Linked DNA regions of Homo sapiens: all the other regions are linked to region 1. Evidence: promoter capture Hi-C in 16 types of primary human blood cells and fetal thymus (Javierre and others, 2016). All regions are on one chromosome and are shown on one strand. The core of a region is centred on a gene start or on the middle of the fragment in contact, and the rest is flanking DNA. Distances in the headings are between cores, read along the strand shown.

Evidence for each region. The method cuts DNA at HindIII sites, captures the fragments that hold promoters and counts their contacts. A CHiCAGO score of 5 or more calls a contact.
Region 2: a contact is called between a fragment that was not itself captured here and the fragment with the promoter of ZNF329 in region 1, in 2 of 17 cell types (naive CD4 T cells and non-activated CD4 T cells). The highest score is 5.2, in naive CD4 T cells.
Region 3: the fragment with the promoter of ZNF550 here is called in contact with the fragment with the promoter of ZNF329 in region 1 in 13 of 17 cell types (total CD8 T cells, naive CD4 T cells, non-activated CD4 T cells and 10 more); the score reaches 13.7 in total CD8 T cells.
Region 4: the fragment with the promoter of ZNF530 here is called in contact with the fragment with the promoter of ZNF329 in region 1 in 17 of 17 cell types (activated CD4 T cells, non-activated CD4 T cells, total CD8 T cells and 14 more); the score reaches 14.7 in activated CD4 T cells.

The regions. Positions count from the first base shown.
Region 1 is chr19:58,149,439-58,152,138 of GRCh38, forward strand. ZNF329 (zinc finger protein 329) reads right to left here and starts at 1,351. Exons shown (of 4, transcript NM_024620.4): 1 at 1,314-1,351. RefSeq lists an enhancer at 1,428-1,487. The HindIII fragment of the contact is 7,703 bases long and covers 1-2,700 here.
Region 2 is chr19:57,617,212-57,620,052 of GRCh38, forward strand. ZNF134 (zinc finger protein 134) reads left to right here. Exons shown (of 3, transcript NM_003435.5): 2 at 2,201-2,297. The coding sequence starts at 2,258. Among named protein-coding and RNA genes, the nearest start is that of ZNF134, 4.4 kb to the left of the region's middle. The HindIII fragment of the contact is 4,269 bases long and covers 1-2,841 here.
Region 3 is chr19:57,558,369-57,561,119 of GRCh38, forward strand. It overlaps ZNF550 (zinc finger protein 550), which reads right to left and starts at 1,495. Exons shown (of 4, transcript NM_001397372.1): 1 at 1,288-1,495. The coding sequence starts at 1,314. It overlaps LOC124904781 (a long non-coding RNA gene), which reads left to right and starts at 1,574. Exons shown (of 2, transcript XR_007067357.1): 1 at 1,574-1,750. RefSeq lists enhancers at 537-616, 761-1,625, 1,067-1,116, 1,603-2,751, 1,747-1,856. The HindIII fragment of the contact is 1,240 bases long and covers 882-2,121 here.
Region 4 is chr19:57,598,561-57,601,260 of GRCh38, forward strand. ZNF530 (zinc finger protein 530) reads left to right here and starts at 1,325. Exons shown (of 4, transcript NM_001321981.2): 1 at 1,325-1,574; 2 at 2,168-2,219. RefSeq lists enhancers at 1,373-1,582, 1,673-1,792. The HindIII fragment of the contact is 5,329 bases long and covers 1-2,700 here.

The DNA of each region.
Region 1 (2,700 bases), core at 101-2,600:
CTATGCATGTGTCTCAGGCAGGGAGAAGATAAAGATAAAGCTAATGTGGCAAAAAGTGTTAATAATTTTAGAATCTGGATGGTTTTAGAAGTGTTAAACTATTCCTGCAACTTCTATGCAAATGCGGAACTTTTCAAAATGAAAAGTTGGGTGAAGAGAGAGGTAAACAAGCAGTAGAATGGAGGAAAGTCACTTGCTGTGGGAAAAAAGAAAAAACAGACAAAAACTGGGTATTCAAAACGTACTTCAACAAGCCCAAGTTCCTATAGCCAAATTTTTTAACTTGGCAAAAAATAAAGGACCTTTTCAGGCTGATGGTAATTTTAATAAAGGTTTAGGTTGCATTTGTCAAAATTCATCAATGGTACAGGGAATATCTGTGCATTTCACTGAAAGTCAATTTTGGCTCAAAAAATTTAAAAAAGCACTACTGAACTCTAATTCATGGTAAGCATAGTGAGGTGTTTGAGGGAGAAGTGTTGTGATATCTGCAACTTACTTTGAAATGTTTCCAAAAATAGGTGGATTAATGAATGGCTGAAAGGATGGACAGAAGGAAAGATAAGGGATACAGTAAGTTCAGCAGACGTTAACCGGGTCGTTCACTGCACAAGTCTTTCAGCTTCTCTATCTAAACCAACATTTTATGTCATAAAATATTGAGACTGGAAGACTGCACAAAGGAAATATGCCACTAAACCAAGGGAAAAGACAGCAAAATGGTCACTAAACACGTGCAAAAATGCGGCCCTCACTGAGAATTGCAGTAAAACATGATTTTGCAAATATCAAATGGAAAAACACACAGGTGATCTAACACCTTCGAGACTCAAGGGGAAGCGGCTCAGCCCACTGGCTCACGGCCGCCAATTCAGCCGGAGGCCGACCCAAGCCTACACTGCCCCTCACACCTGACAGAAAAGCTGCAGACTCGGGGGTTACCCCCGGAGACGGACCAGGACACCCAGCAGGCGTGGCAAAACAGTCTCTATGGGAGGGCGGGCTAGAGATGCGAGCGCGGAACTCACGGGTGACGCTAAGGAAAGAGCGGGGGCGTCCAGACCAGCCCCGGAGCGACCTCGTCCTCAGAGGAGTGACCCCAATCGCCACGGAGCGTCCCCACCCACCAGGAGAACTACGCCCCTGGCCAGACCCTCGCCCTAGCGGGCCCGACATGCCCACCACCCAGGTGAAACCCACCCGCGGACGCGCCCCTCGCCGCCCCACAAGGACCCGGCGGACCTCCACCCGCCAAGACTTCCCTCCGCAGGAAACGGAGGCAGCGCAGGGCTCAGGGATGCGTCGGCACTTACGGTTGGCGGCCGGCGGCAGCCATGTTCCGGGCGATTGCGCTTGCGCGGCTGCCGGGACAAGGATGTGCGCGTGCGCGGAGTCCCCGAGCTTCCCCCGCCCAACGCTGGGGCGGCCGCGGGTACCGGGTTATTCATTACCCTGGCGTGGACTTGCCTCGGGGCGGACGCGCAGGCATTTACTTTCTCCTATGGTCTCCTCTGATTTTTAACCCGATGCTATCATTCTTTTGTTATAGAGCCTTCCTTTTATTTACTGCATAATTTCCTAAAATATTTCTTTATCTATAATCTTTTTTTGAGATAATAATGTTAAAATTCAGAATAAGTACACTCATTATTCATTGGCAATATAATTATTTACTGGGTGCGTGGCTCACGCCTGTAATCCCAGCATTTTGGGAGGCCTAATTTGTTAAAATGACTAGATCTAAGAAATGTAAACAAAGCCAGTAACTTTCCTCTGTAGTAACAATAGCCGGTTGAAAATGAAAACTACACATTTTCATTCTTTCAGTGGTTCTCTTAAACTTTAGCATGGGGAAGCCTAAATATTTACTGACAGGGAAGAGAGAAACTGTGGTATGTGCAACGGAGCAATAGGGGGTGGTTAAAACAAACGGACTGGGCTCACCTAAGGTCAGGAGTTTGAGACCAGCCTGGCCAACATGGTGAAACCCCGTCTCCACTAAAAATACAAAAATTAGCTAGGCGTGGTGGCAGGCGCCTGTAATCCCAGCTCCTCGGGAGGCTGAGGCAAGAGAATCACTTGAACCTGGGAGGCGGAGGTTGCAGTGAGCTGAGATCGTACCATCACACTCCAGCCTGGGGGACAAGAGGGAGACTTCGTCTCAAAAAAAAAAAAAAAAAAAAGGACTAACTTATATACAAGATAGACAGTTCTCCAAAAACAGTTCGAAAAGTAAACTGTGCACTTATCCACATGATACAACTTACCTGGAAATAAAAGACACAAAATCTATATGTTATACAGAGATTGATACATAAGTAGTAAAGTAACAATAACATGGACCAGATAGATTGTCCAACCTCAAGAAAGTGGCAACTGAGGGGAAAGAGTTGGGGAGGAGACAAAGGAGACCTCAGTTACACCTGTGATGCTTGATAGGAAAAAACAAATCAAAACCTGAAAATCTGACTACATGTTAACACAGGTAAAATCTCGATGATACATGGGTGTCATCTTTATTATTTATAGATTATTCTATTACTCTCCGAACCTCTCCGCAGGTTGAAATACTTCACAATTTTGAAATGAAAATTAGAAAAAAAATTCTAAGCCATAATAGTGATTAAATTGTCACTCACAATAGTGATGGTTGGAGCAACTTGGAAATCAATTAGCAAAAGCAATAAAGGATCTTCATGA
Region 2 (2,841 bases), core at 72-2,571, 530 kb before region 1:
GGAGTGATCTGACTTTGGTCTTAACCAACTTCCTCTGTACAGTGAAAAAAGACTGTGGGAGTGAGGATGAAGGAAGGAATACCACTGAGGAGCTTAATGCAACAGTTCAGGTTGGACCAGAGTGGTCGCTGTAGAGGTGGGAGATGTGGATGGATTCTGAATCATTTTTCTTAAAGTGGGACCAACCAGATTTTCTGATGTGGAAGATGAGAAAGAAAAGGCAAGGGGTGAAGGAAGACCCTGGATTTTTTAGTCTGAGAAGATATAAAGATGCCATCAACTGAAGTGACAAAGTTGGTGGTAGGAGTACCTTTCAGAGGTAATATCAGGAGTGCAGTTTGGCTATGTGGAATCTACCATGTTCCAAAGACACTTGAGTGGAGGTGTCAAGTAGACAGCTGGACACAGAGATCTGAAGTTCAGAGAAGGGATTCAGGTTGGAGCTATCCACAGGGTGGCAGCCAGCATGTGGATCAGGATGGAGCTTTGCTTCCAATTTAGAGAGAGAATCTTTAGGTCATGGTGACAGTGCCATCAGCACACTGTAAGGGCAGACACAGCAGGGTAGAGGTAGGGGCCATCTTAGAGTCTAGAAGAGGGAGGGAAATGTCCCTGGGAGGAAGGGGAATAATAGGGTCAGGCAGGTGGCAAAGCGTTCCAGGCAGAGAGTGGATGTGAGGTGAAGTACTGTAGTAATAGAAGTGAGGTGGCAGTGAGGCCAGAGCCAGTGCTTATTCAGCTCTTTATGTGCTCCTCAGGCTTCCATGGTGACCTTTGGTGGGACCTGTGGAGTTTCAGTCAAGCTAGTGAATTAGCCCAGGGACAGATTGGGTCAGTAGGCAGAATCCCTGTGCTTGGGGTAGGTGCCCAGTGAGTGTAGGTTTTGAATGAGTTAAATGTTGAGAAGCCTGTGACTGACCTCAGTAGTACAACAACAAAGCAGAAAAGGGCTGAGTTTATCTGGGATCTGCACATGGTTCTGGATTGCTGAATTGACCCATGAAATAGAGCCAGGAGGGGAAGATTTAATAGGTGGATTCAGGGCAACCCATGGCAGTGTGGCCGTTGATCAGGACCAGATGTAATCCTGGATGCATTATCCAAGCATTCTCTGGATGCTGTGTGCAGATTTGCATGTGGGGAAGCCATGGAGGTACCAGTGTTGTGGGTGTCCATAGATGTAAAGGAGGTATAGCCAAAAGGGTGATGTGCACATGGAGATGGAGTGTGAATTCATGAGCCCAGAGCTTTGGTATGGAGGGTTTCTGAAAGAATGCTTAGCTCAGGTTTGTGTATGAGGAATAATCTGTTGATCCCCAGGGAGCTGGCTGATAGGAGAAGGGTTGGGTCCTACATACCAGGCCCATGGTGTTTTATCTGTCCACTTGCCTGTTCTGAGCTGGACAAAATGATTAATGGAATATGAGTCGAGAACAGGCACCAATCACACCAGGGCCTGTTATCTCATTTGAGTTAGATGTGACAAGGAGTCCTGGAGAGAGAGGCTGTCCTTAAGCTCAGTTGTCCACCTCACACAGGGCTATGTGACCTTCAAGGATTTATTTGTTTACTTCTCTTAGGAGGAATGGGAGCTGCTGGATGAGGCTCAGAGACTCTTCTATTATGAAATAATGGCTTCTGTGCTTCGCATTTATAGTCTCCCTGGGTAAGGCCCCAGTATCCCATTTTTCTGGGCTGGGTCCTACTCTTCCTTTTTGCCCTAGGGGTTGCTCTTTCCTTTCCATAGCTAGAGCATGGGTACTGCTCTCTTCTCTGATTCCCTCACATAGGTCCCCTGGGTGCCTAGGCTCAGCTAGATGCATTGGCCCCTCTCTTCCCTGTGTTCCTCAACTCCTGCTGCCCTGAAGCCTTGCCAGGAAGGGTTTGGAGGTCAGGGGTCCTAAGGTGACCCAGTGAATTCTGCTTGGCCTCTCCCTGGCCAGGTGACTGTCCACACTCATGACACCTCTGGACTCCAGGCTCCACCCGCTTCCTCTAATTGTAATTTCCTTGAGTCTGCCTGTGTCCTCAATTTCAGTCATCATGGTCACCACTTGTGGGCCCACTGCACTGTTCCTGCAGGACAATTTTCTGAGGTTCATTTTGTAGCATTTGTTTTCTTGCAATTTTGCATGGGTGGGCTACTCTGGCTAGTGCTCTCAGCCTGTTTCACCTTTCCCCTATGCTTTGTATCTTCCAGATCCTCTGTGGTTGTTGAATTGTAACAAGAGAGAGAACTCTGGCTGCCTGAGAGGGCATGACTCTAGTCACAGCAGGAGGGGCTTGGACAGGCCCTGGTGAGTGGGAGCTGAGGGACGCCATAACCTCAGGGCTGGGTTCCTGTAGTTCCGGAAACCTATGTTGTGCCCATCACAAGTGCCAAGGCCAGAGGCCCTAACTTATTTCTACCTTTTTATCCCCATTCTGTACACTCTTGTCATTTCTAATCTGACTTCTGACCCAGGGCTGTCTTCTCCCATTCTCTACCAGAGGGGCTCTAGTAGAGCAATAGCTCTCTCTGCGATGCTTTCCAATATTGTACTACACTTACACTATTGTGTCATAAGATGTGTGCATATCTGTAAATAGTCCCTGAACACGTTACTTATTTTTAATCACATTTTCCTGGGCCTGTACTCACATTTCGCATAGGAGTCACCTGTCACCCACAGTCAGCCAAGGTCCTGCTAAAAGTCATTGCAGAGGATTAAGTTGGAGACCTTGTACTACACCCCATCCTCGTGTCTTTGTTTCTTGTGAGGCCATCTCCATTCTGTGACTCTTAGATTCCAGTACTGTACAGCAGCCCTTTTTTCAACCTGATCCTAGCTCTGTTCCACC
Region 3 (2,751 bases), core at 245-2,744, 590 kb before region 1:
AAGTACAGCCTTGCAGACCATGCTGGTAGGAGGGGGTGGATTTATTGGAAATGTGATGAGAGTCCCTATAAGAGAGGCCTATTCAATCATCAACCATTTATTAAGTACAATAAATGTACTTAAGCCTGGCTGTTCTGGGTCTTGGGAGAGGGAAGCAACAGGCACTCACATTCCAGGGTTGGAAAAAGATCCTAAACAGGCAACTAAATAAATGAGTAAGGCAATGTCAGATGGCCTTAAAGATTCAGATGACAAGAAAACAGAGCAAGGAGACCAAAGAGACTCTGGTCAGCTTTAAACGGTGCAACAGACGAGACCTCTTTAAGCAGCGGACACCAGAGGGAGTCAGAAATAAAGCAAAGGAGGGAGAGGTGGATGAGAAATTAACAACTACGACAGGAGCTGACAGTAATCTGGGCTATCATGAAAGTAATCAGAGTGACTGCTAGAGAGTAACCCTGGGCCTCATGTGTTATCTCCAAAGGGACACTACATCCTGCATACCATCGCCACTGAACATTTTAATGGACTCGTTTTTCACCTGTAACTAAATGTCTTAAACAGGAAAATATACTGTTAGTTGCAACCCAGCGTCCCTTGCCCTAAACTGAAAGACAAATTCCTCAGCCTGCCCTACCACCTTTTCTGCCCTGGCATAGCAGCAACCGCAGAAACGCTCCTCCCACCTCTTTCAGCCGCTGCCCTTCGTGTTGTAGAGACAGGAGGCCAAGGAGGCCAGAGGGTCAGACTCCTGCTGGGGTTGAGTCTCCAAACCTAGCACAGGCCCAGGGAGCAGCTCCGGAAACAACATCCTGAGCGACGTCCCCGGACCGTGCTGTGCACTGAGACGGACACACACACATCACCCAGGGAGCCGTTCAAGCTTCCTCAACCCCGGGGGGGGGAAGAGTAAATATTTCTACTTTGCGCGCGCAAAAATGAAGGACGAGGACAGTAACGGGACTTGTTCAAGGTCGCAGGCCCGAGAAAGGACATGGTTGGAAGAGCCACGAGGAGGACTGCGGTCGCTCCTCTCACCTGTGAGGGGTTCCGGGACCCTAAAAGCCCTATTTCATACCACAACGCCGCGCACCCCAGAAACGGGGACGCTCCCCACGCCACCGCGGGCCTGCATTCCGGACCCGGGACCGCGCGACCCCCTTCTAGGCCTCTAAGAAGCAACGGCAGGGACTGCACTGAGGACGACCCTGAAACGCCGTCCTTCCGCTCGTCGGGCCCGGGACACTGAGGCCGGGTGGCCGCGGGGAGCCGAGCCAGTCTGCTCACCTGCGCTGCGTCCTTCGTCTCCGCCATCCGACCGTTGGCAGGACGAGGCCGCGTGGGGCAGCTCCCACGGGCTCAAAACCCTACCCCGGGTCCTACAACGGTGCGGAGGTGAGCCCCAGTCGCCCTACCATCCTTCCCAGCACAGTTCTGAGAGCGCGGACCAACACGCCCCACCACAAACGTCCACGCCAGCGAGGCCGGAAGTCCCGCCCCTGTGTCGCGGTCGCCTGCCACGCCTTTTCCTGCGCCGGCCCACTGCCTTCTAGGTAATGTAGTCTTGTCCCGTAAGAGGCCAGGCTTGGCTCTTTTTCCTTTTTTATTATGCACACCATGTTTCTGTATATCTCAGATGATCTTAGCGGAGCAAGTGTACACACTGGATTGTAAATTTTTAAAACTTCCTATTATTCGGATGCCTCAACGTCCCTACAAGCAGGCTGTGAGCACTCGCCCAGGCACCCAGGTAAACGAGTTTGATAAAGGGGGCCCTGCCACGAGGTTCCCCGCTTGCCTCCTCTGAGTGACCCAGTGACATTCCCATGTACCAGTAAAATCTTACGCCTGGTTACTGCGTCCTCCTCCACCCTGACGCCAGGCACTGTCCCTGGGACTGGCGTGGATCTGGACCCCCGCTTCCCGCGTGGAGCCATTCCCGGGACATGCTCGTGGGGTTCCGTCTGTGGGACGTCTGCCTCCTCTGTGTGGACTGGTGTTGCCCAGGGCTCAGGAAGGTCTCCAGGGGCCGTGAGTCCCCGCCCGCTTCCGGAGTCCAGCTTCGTGACACCATCGTGAGAAAGAATGCAGGGATGAGTCAAAATGAAGCCAAAGGCAAGAAGCTTTTATTGGGAAGAAAAAGTACACATTTTTGAGAAGAGTGTACTTTTCCCAAGAGAAGAGGGAAATGCGGACGTACGAGGGAGAGCGGGTCATGCACAATGGAGTTTGGGTTTCTAATTTTATGGGCTCTTCTAATTAGGGGGTGGGATAATCATGAGGTTTTTCTAGGAAAAGGTGGGAATTTCTTAGAATTGGGGTGCCAACCATTTTTATACTAAATGTGGGCGTGCTTGGATTGGCCTGGCACTGGTGGGTGTGTGATTTAATGTGGCAATGAGTGTATAATTAGGTCTGGGGTAGGAAATGGGTCAAATCTAGCGTCATGGGACAGCCTAGCCCCAATCCTGTTTGTTAAGGTCTCATCAGCCCAGTCTTCTTGTTGGAGTAGCTAATTTTAACAGCTTGATGTTTTCCCCCTTCTCCTGTGACCACACAGCATTCCTATTTTGTGGGTGTTTCTTTAATTAGAGAGTGGAATAATTATTAGGTATTCTGGAAAAGGAGGGAAATTCAGGGACCCACCTGGTTACTGCCCCCTTTCTCTCTTATTTGGCTTTGCCCAGAAGAGTCATGGACATGTCATCCTGACTGGGATTTTGGCCATTCTTTCTCTTATTTTGGGTTTTC
Region 4 (2,700 bases), core at 75-2,574, 550 kb before region 1:
GATCTGGCCTCATCAGTGTTAGGGGCCAACATCCAATGCTTTGAGAGCCAAGATAGAACAAAAAGGCAGAGAAAGAGCAAGTTACTCTCTTCTTGCCCTGGATCATCCACCTTCTGTTTTCCAACATTAAAGTTCTTGGATCTTGGGCCTTTGGACTCTGGAACATACAAGAATGACCCTCACCCAGTTCTCAGGCCTTCAGCCTCCAACTGGGAATTTCACCATAGGCTCCCTTGGTTTTCAGGCCTTCAGATGCAGACTGAATGATACCACCCACCTTCGTGTCTTACCAGGTTGCAAAAGGTATATCCTGGGACTTCTTAGCCTCCATAACTGGATGAGCCAAGTCCCATAATAAATCCCCTCTTGTACATCTATGTATCCTATTGGTTCTGTGTTTCTCTGGAGAATCCTGACTAATACAATAGGTTTCAGTAATTTTCATTTCACAACTGTTTTTCTAAGATGATCTCAACTCCCCATGCAAGCACTGTCCCTGCAGTAACAGTATCAATGATCAAAATTTCCCATCAAAGAGATGAAAGCTAGGTGTCCCAAACCTTTATTCTGGTATTCTGATGTCCCCTTTGCACAAGTGCTCTGACTGTGAACACTACAGACACTGTTCTACTTTAAAATGGCATATGCTAAGTGGCTCTTCTGTTTAGAAAGTTGCTACAATCCTAAAAGAAGCATATCTAAGAATATGGAGGAAGAAATATTATATGAATACAACACTGTTCCTTACAGGGCTAGACACACTCACCGATTACACAGGCAGGAGAGGCATTTTCTGTGAGACAAAATTCCTCTTTCGTCCTCCAGCTTCGGTGCGATCTAACGGATGTTTTATCATTCCTGTCATGGCGCTATGTAAACTCTATTTCCCTTATTCCTTACTGAGCATAATGAAACTCACAAAGCTGACTCTAACGTTCTACTTTACATAAATGTGTGGAGAAAGAAGGTAATGTTTACTAGGCTCTCGCCAAGGGTAGAGGCATTTTGTATCTGAATAACTCTGACTACCTAGGTGACTAGTTGTACACAATACCCTCCAAAAATCTCTGTATGGTACCTTAAAAAAGCAGCGAAGCTCCTCCCTTGTCCAAGGAGGCTGGAGACACCACCTCTCAGCCTTCCCCTCCACCTTTCTCCATAGCAACGGGGTCATTCCTCCCTGAGGTCCAGGAGAAGGGCGACCTCTGCCAGCCCAAGAAGCGGTGAGAACTACATTACCCAGAGGCCCGTGAGCCAGGTTCTTGGCGTGGAGCCAATGAGGCTCAGGGGAGGGACATTTCCGCTCTGTCCAACTTGTCGGAGCGGAACTTCCGGCGTCCTCCCTGTGGCGGGCACTTTGGCTTGTGTCAGTTCCATCCGCGGGTGCCGGATCTGGACCTAGGTGCTGACAGCGAGAAGGCGCGAGGAGAGTCGTTTTCTCAGCTGCACAGCCGGGGCCTGACGGTCGCCGGCGGTGGTGACAGCTTTGCTCTTGTCTCCGCCCGGATCGTCCACCGCTCCCGGCCCGCTCCGCCCAGAGTCCGATGGCGGCGGCACTGAGGGCCCCGACCCAGGTGAGCGCTGCGTCCTCCCGGCCTCCTCTGCCCTCCCCACCCGAAACTGAGGGACGCGTGAAGGGTTTTCTGCAGCCCGGACCGCACTGTCCGGCACAGTGAGGCGCTGGTGCTGGATCTCGTTTCTGGTAGTGTGGCAGGGAGCGGGAGAGCGACACGGTCAGGGGGCTGCGCGGGCAACAGCTTGGAGCTGCGCCTGAGCCGGGAGGCTGGGGAGACCCAGGCCGGCCTCACGCGTGCAGGTAGCAGAGGGTGGGGCAGCGCCGCGCTGCATTGGCCCCACTGAGTTTCACCAGCACACTGAGGGCCACAGCGCGTAGGACAGAAGAGGGGCACGGCCCCAGTCACGCTTCTAAAAGTTTCACAAAAGCTGTTCAGAGGAACGCGCTGGAAGGGCAGTGATGATAGCAGGCATGGAGGGACCTAGTCTTTTTACGAGGTCACAAAGCTGGTAAAAGTCAGCACCAAGGACTGACACCCAGATACAAAGCAGTCATCCCTGGACACCTGGCTCTGGTGTTCCACATTGGAACCAGAAGTCCATGGAGCCACACTTTGGTCACCTGCCTCTCAGAACATGTTTCCTCCCACAGATTGCCACTAGTACTTACAGGTCCGTAAGAAGCACTTGAAGACCCTACAAGGGTAAGTGGAGGAAATCCAGAAGCTCATTGATTCCAGCAATGGGATCTCTAGGATTGGGACTGTGGTGACCTGGGATTCTTTACTTACCGCTTTTCCAGGCCTTGAGCCTAGGGACTCTGAACAAAAATATGTCCAGGGTGAGTATTATATGAGGTGGTGCCTGTTGCTGGCAAATAATAGGATGAATGTGGAAGTTTGTCCCAGAGATAAGTACAGGTGTTTGGAGCTGCTTGGAGGTGAGGCTGAGCTGGTTAAGAGAACCTCAAGTCTCATTTCCTTCTCATGGGAACAGAGAGCAGAGGTACAGGAGTTAGAAACTAAATGGCTGTCTCAGATGTCTTTGTTCTGGAGATGATGGCAGCAATGAAGATTTGGAGCAGAAGAGGGAGGTGATCTTCCCCAGGCCTCATGAGGCTCCTGTGGCTGAGCACAGACAACAGACTGTGGGTTTAAGGGAGTTGGTAGCAATACCAAAGAGGAA